2 separate regions of the Homo sapiens genome follow, and region 2 is linked to region 1. Evidence: promoter capture Hi-C in human tissues and cell types (Jung and others, 2019). All regions are on one chromosome and are shown on one strand. The core of a region is centred on a gene start or on the middle of the fragment in contact, and the rest is flanking DNA. Distances in the headings are between cores, read along the strand shown.

What was found. The method cuts DNA at HindIII sites, captures the fragments that hold promoters and counts their contacts. A contact is called where the count stands out against the background at its distance.
Region 2: a fragment that was not itself captured here is called in contact with the fragment with the promoter of KLF12 in region 1 in 1 of the 25 tissues and cell types used here (dorsolateral prefrontal cortex).

The regions. Positions count from the first base shown.
Region 1 is chr13:74,133,046-74,135,745 of GRCh38, forward strand. It overlaps KLF12 (KLF transcription factor 12), which reads right to left and starts at 1,359. Exons shown (of 8, transcript NM_001400136.1): 1 at 927-1,359. RefSeq lists enhancers at 1-16, 47-96 and a silencer at 1,106-2,700. The HindIII fragment of the contact is 8,641 bases long and covers 1-2,700 here.
Region 2 is chr13:74,560,707-74,563,406 of GRCh38, forward strand. No RefSeq gene overlaps it. Among named protein-coding and RNA genes, the nearest start is that of LINC00347, 9.2 kb to the left of the region's middle. The HindIII fragment of the contact is 5,000 bases long and covers 1-2,700 here.

The sequences.
Region 1 (2,700 bases), core at 109-2,608:
CAGGTCCCCCGTAATTGAAAATAACAGCCACCGGCCAGCCCCTGGCTACTTGCATGGACCAGGCACTGTAGCAAGTGACAGTTACACATCATTACGACCAGAGACAATAATGAATGTAGCACCAGGAGCACTATTCATGCCAGCAGTGTCATCTCCGCCTTAACCCCTTCCCCTCCACTCTCTCCAGCGCGCACACACAGCCCACACGGTCCCGGTGCGGAGCTATTCATCCACCCCGCTCGAGGCCGGGGGGCCAACTACTTCCACGAGCCCCCCCTCCCCCCCAAGTTCAGCCCTGGGGTTTTATTTCACATCCTTGGCAACTGTCAGGCAAACACTGCAACCAACAATTCCACTAGGGGTAGAAAAACACTTGCTTAATTCACGTTACTTGATAACTTCTTCTGGAAAAAAAAAATTAGGGGAGGTGGGGAAGAAACCTCCTTCTTTCTTCTCCACGAATCCGACCGACGCTACTTGCTTTGCAACAGCATCGCCCTTCCCCGGCCCCCTCCCGCTTCCCAGCACTTTCCCCCTTTAAGAACACAGACCAACCAAAATGATTTAACTTGAGCAGATGACAGAAGGAAAATAAAACACGTTAAGAGAATACGGTCTGATTTGGGATGGCAAAAAAAAAAAAAAAAGAGGAGGGGGTTGTTTATTTTGATAAGAAACGGAATCGGCACAGACCTGAACAGAAGCTGCAGAGCAGGAGAAATTGTTTTCTTTCCCTCACACAGAGTCCCCCTCTCTCTCTCCCTTTCTCTCTCTCACACGCGCGCGCGCACACACACACACACACTCGCACACACACGGCGTCACCCGCGCACACGCACACGCAGAGCCTCTCAGCGGCTCTCTGCAGTTCTCAGGAAATGAATGGGGGGCAACCCGGGGAACTGTTGTACTTGCAAATGACTTACCCGGATCACATGATGCGCTAAATGTAGGGTGGGCCGGTGGGTGGAGGCTGCCGAGTTGCGAGCCCCGGTCTAGTGTGGGGAGCCTCGCCAGGCCCGCATCGAATTACCCCGGGGCCCAGCCGAGGGGGTTGCAGGACGCCGCTTCTCCTCCCTCGCAGCCCGCAGCTCAGGAAACCGGAGAGGCGCTTGGGGTGGGGTGGGGTGGGGTGCTGTGAGGGGGGGGGCCGAAAACAAGAAACCCCCAAACAAAAGAGCTCCGGGTCCTCCTCCCCAGAAACAAAGCCCCGCCGCTGCCGGCGAGCCCCGGGGTGGGGCCGAGGGCGGGGGCGGCGGCGGGGAGGGGCTCGCTCAGCAGGCGCTAAGTCGCTTTATTGCCATAAAATGGGGCCCCCGAGCCGCTCCGCCCGAGGATTAGGAGGCGGGCTCTGAGTGTGATGGTTGAAATCCCCTGTGGGAAACTAACCCCTCCCCGCTCGCAGAGGTAGAAGGCAACACCCACTGCCCGGCCCTCGCCTCCCCGCCCGGACCGCCGGGCTGGGTCCGCGGCGCCTCCACCCCGCCCCACCCCGCCCCACCCCTGCCCCCGCCCTCCGGCCCCGGGCCTCGGCAGCGCTTCCCTTTCACCTGCACCACTTTGCTGCGGCACCCCAAATAACCCACACATGGCCCTGGGAGCTCGGGGAGTCGTCGGCCGAGGGGGCCCGCGGGGGCTTGCGGCGGGAGGGACCCCTGGAGAGCAACTCGCTGGGCAAGGACTCGCGCCGAGCCGCGAGAAAGTCTCCTCTTTTGTGTCAGAGCGCGCCAGACAGGCTTAGGAGAATTCGGGGACCCAAAAAGCGTGCAGCCCGCTTGGGCCCCCACCCCTCGCCGCACCCGCCCGGGTGGGGGCGCGCAGTGGAGGGAGGGGGCTGTCGCCCGGGTCGTCCCCGCGGCTCGCCCGCCAGCGAACTTGGAAAGGTGTGGGCGGAGCCGGCCGGGACTGTGGGGCAGCTCGCGGGGACCGCCCCTGGGCGCCGGGCATCGCCCGCGCCGGGCAACAATGGGGTCAGGCAGGGGCAGCCCCGCGGGCGGTGCCCCCCGCGCGCCGGTGGGGCGGGCGGAGGGCCGGGCGCGGCAGGCAGGGGAGTCATTGTTTGGGTTCCGGAGCGACGCACGTTGCGGGCGAAGCGGGGGCGCCCCTTTTCCCTGCGCTTCACCTTGGCGGGATGAATGGGGGCGAGGCGGAGATGCGCGCCTGGCCTCGCCACCCCAGCGAAGGGGCCCCTGCCTGCGCCAGTTCTGTGGGAAAGCACGCAAACTTGGAGGACTGGGGCAGAGGAAGCGGGATCTGCAGACCCCCGCGGGGCCCGGGGGCGGCGGGGAAGGGAGTCCAGCTCCACTGCCCCACGCCCAGAGCGGAGCCCCAAGAAGCGGACGGCCCGGAGCCGAGTCCTTGACGCTCTCCCCGGCAGCCCCTCCCTCCCCGCCTCCGCGCCCCGGGGAGCGGATCCGCGGGATTGTGGGGCGGGAGAGGGAGGAGGCGGCCGGGCGGCCCTGCAGTTCCCGCGGCGGCTCGGAGGGCGCGGGGTCAGCGCCGAGCCGGAGGGTCGGCGGGGGCGGGGAGCAGACGGGGCGGAAGCGGCCGGGCGGGCGGGGCGCGCGGCGGACGGAGGCGGGAGGCTGTGGGCCCGCCTCCTCACCATCCTAGGTGAGCGCGGCGCTCCGGGCACGACAGTATTCCCCTGCCCCGCGCCCCCGGCCCGGCCCGCCCCGCGTGGGAAATCGCCAGGGCTGT
Region 2 (2,700 bases), core at 161-2,660, 430 kb after region 1:
CTGTTATTATTGCCATGACAAGTTGAAATAATTGGGGAATGACATTTTTTTGAGGGGCTAGTAATTCTCACTTTTGTCTTTGTGCTTTTTGTTGTGTCTATTTAAAGCTTGATAGAGGGTTTGGGATTGATTGTTTTGCTTTTATTACAGTCATGTTCATGGACCAAATGTTCTAGGAACAAAAGGATATTAGACATGGCCTGGAAAGCCACAGTCTAGGACCAAAATAATTTAAGCAAAAATTGAATCTTTATTAGCAGGGGTTCACTGATGAGACATAAACATAAATTAAGATTGCTAAATACTGTAAATAAGGAAATTATCTATACTTTTCATATCTGTTATGCTTGTTTTTCTGTTTTAGTGGCAGATAAAGAATGTAGACAGATTCCATGCAAGTTCCCAGAGTAAGATTCTAAGTTGGGAACACATAGCTTAGTATCCAGAGTAGGGCTCTCCTACAGGTGATTTTATGATGCCAGATGTGAGACTTAGAAGAGAATCTGGTTTAACATGAATGTTTCTAAGTATTATCCTGAATATGACAACTGAAGACTGGTAGGAATCCAGATTAGTACTCAGAGGGAGCAGGAGTAGAGCTGCATGAAGGTGATTTGTGTCTTTGCTCATGAATATGGATTCTCCCCAGAGAGAGTTGGAGAAGGCTAAAGCAAACAATGAAGAAAGAAAAAGAGGGGGAGAGAGGACACAACAGGCACTGGCCACCAACAGACAAATAAATTGGTGTTTAAATATCCCTGCTCCTTTTCCTCCCTGGAGGGATAATGTTCCCTGTATTTTCCCCATGGGACTAATGGGATTCTCCATGTGACCATTGTGGAGGCAGACTTAATCATGCCCTCTTCCCCACTCCCTGCTCAAGTTCCTGTGTTTCCCAAATAACTTCATGCACGCAAAGTTTTGTTTCAGGGTCTGTTATGGAGGAGTGAATACTGAGACCCCACCTAAACTGATGAATGTCCTGGTACCAGGAGAGGGTATATACATGCTATGGGTCAAAATTCAAATGTTAAAACTCTACCTTGCAGTACTTCAGAATGTGACCTTATTTGGAAATGGGGTTGTTTGCAGATGTAATTAGTTAAGATTAAAGTGGGCCAATAATTCAATAGGACTGGAGTCCTTACAAAAAGGAGGCGATTTAGACACAGAGATAGACATGCACACTGGAAGAATGCCATGTGAACGCAAAGGCAGAGATCAGAGTTGCTATGTGTTGCATTGTATACCCCTACAATTTTTACGCTGAAGCCCTAACCTTTGAGGTGACTGTATTTGGAGATAGGTCCTACATGGAAGTAATGAAGATTATAAGAGTTCATAAGGGTGGGGCCCTAATCCTTAACTAATTACATCTGTAAACAACTGCATTTCTAATCCCCAATTAATTACATCTGCAATTCTACCGCAAGGTAGAATTTTAACATTTGAATTTTGACCCAATTGAATTTCTCCTGGGACCCTCTCCTGGGACCAGGACATCTGACAGTTTAGGTGATGTCTCAGTATTCATGCCTCCTTAGTTCTTTTAAGGATCTGTGTCCTGAAAAGAAGAGACACTATAAAAAGGGCTCTCTCTCTTTCTCCCTCTCTCTCTCTCATTCCCTGCCCCACAACCATTTCACTACCATGTGAAGACACAATGAGATGGCAGCCATCTACAAATGAAGAATACAGCCCACACTAGAACTGGAATCAACCCGTACCTTGATCTTGAGACTTTTCAGTCTCCAGATCTGTGAGAAATTTATTTCTGGGGTTTAAGCCACCCAGTCTGTAGTATTTTGTTCTGGCAGCTTGAGCTGATTAATGCAAGGGTGATGAGTCTACAAGTCAAGAAATGCCAAAGATTGCCAGAAAACCACCAAAAGCTAGGAGACAGGCATAGTATAGAGGTTGCTCATGGCCCTCAGAAGGAACCAACCTTGCTGACACCTTGATCTTGGACTTCTAGCCTCAGAAATGTGAGACAATAAGTTTCTGTTGTTTAAGCCACCAGGTTTGTGGAACTTTATAAGAGCAGCCCTACTAAATTAATATAACACATAACTGAAAGGTCATGGCGGTGGACAGACCTTAGACATTCTCTGTGGCCTTCAGCCCACCTGGGCCTGTATTTGAGTGTGTATCTACAGGAAAGCCAGAAACTGGAGTTAGATCTGAAACCTATTCCTGAGGACAGGATGTATGTCTGTTGTAGCCTAGACTTTGGCTGTGGGTTTTCTTATAACATTACCCCTGTCCCCTCTTTTCATATGTGGGGCTTTTATCTTATTCCTTGTTGTTTTCCTCATTACTCCCTTAGCAATATAGTATATGGAAATAACAGGACTTAGGAATTACAGCAAATTCCTTTAAGTAAATCTTTTACTTTCTTAAAAAACATAGACATACATTTGATGCTCACCTTGAGTCGGATTTCCTTGACCTTCAAGGAGAGATAATCGCAAACTGAACTTTTAAAGAATATCCTTTACACACAAAAATGAAATAAGTAAGTTAATTAAAACTTAATGAATATAAATACATAATTTAGGTTCTGCAGCAGAAAAAAAGCCTTGGAATCGGCACCAGAATATTGGGATTCTAAGACTTACTTTGCTCTACCAGTTAAGTAACTTTCAAAAGTCAATCTCCTTTCCTAAGAGACTCATTTCTTCATCTATACAATGATGAAAT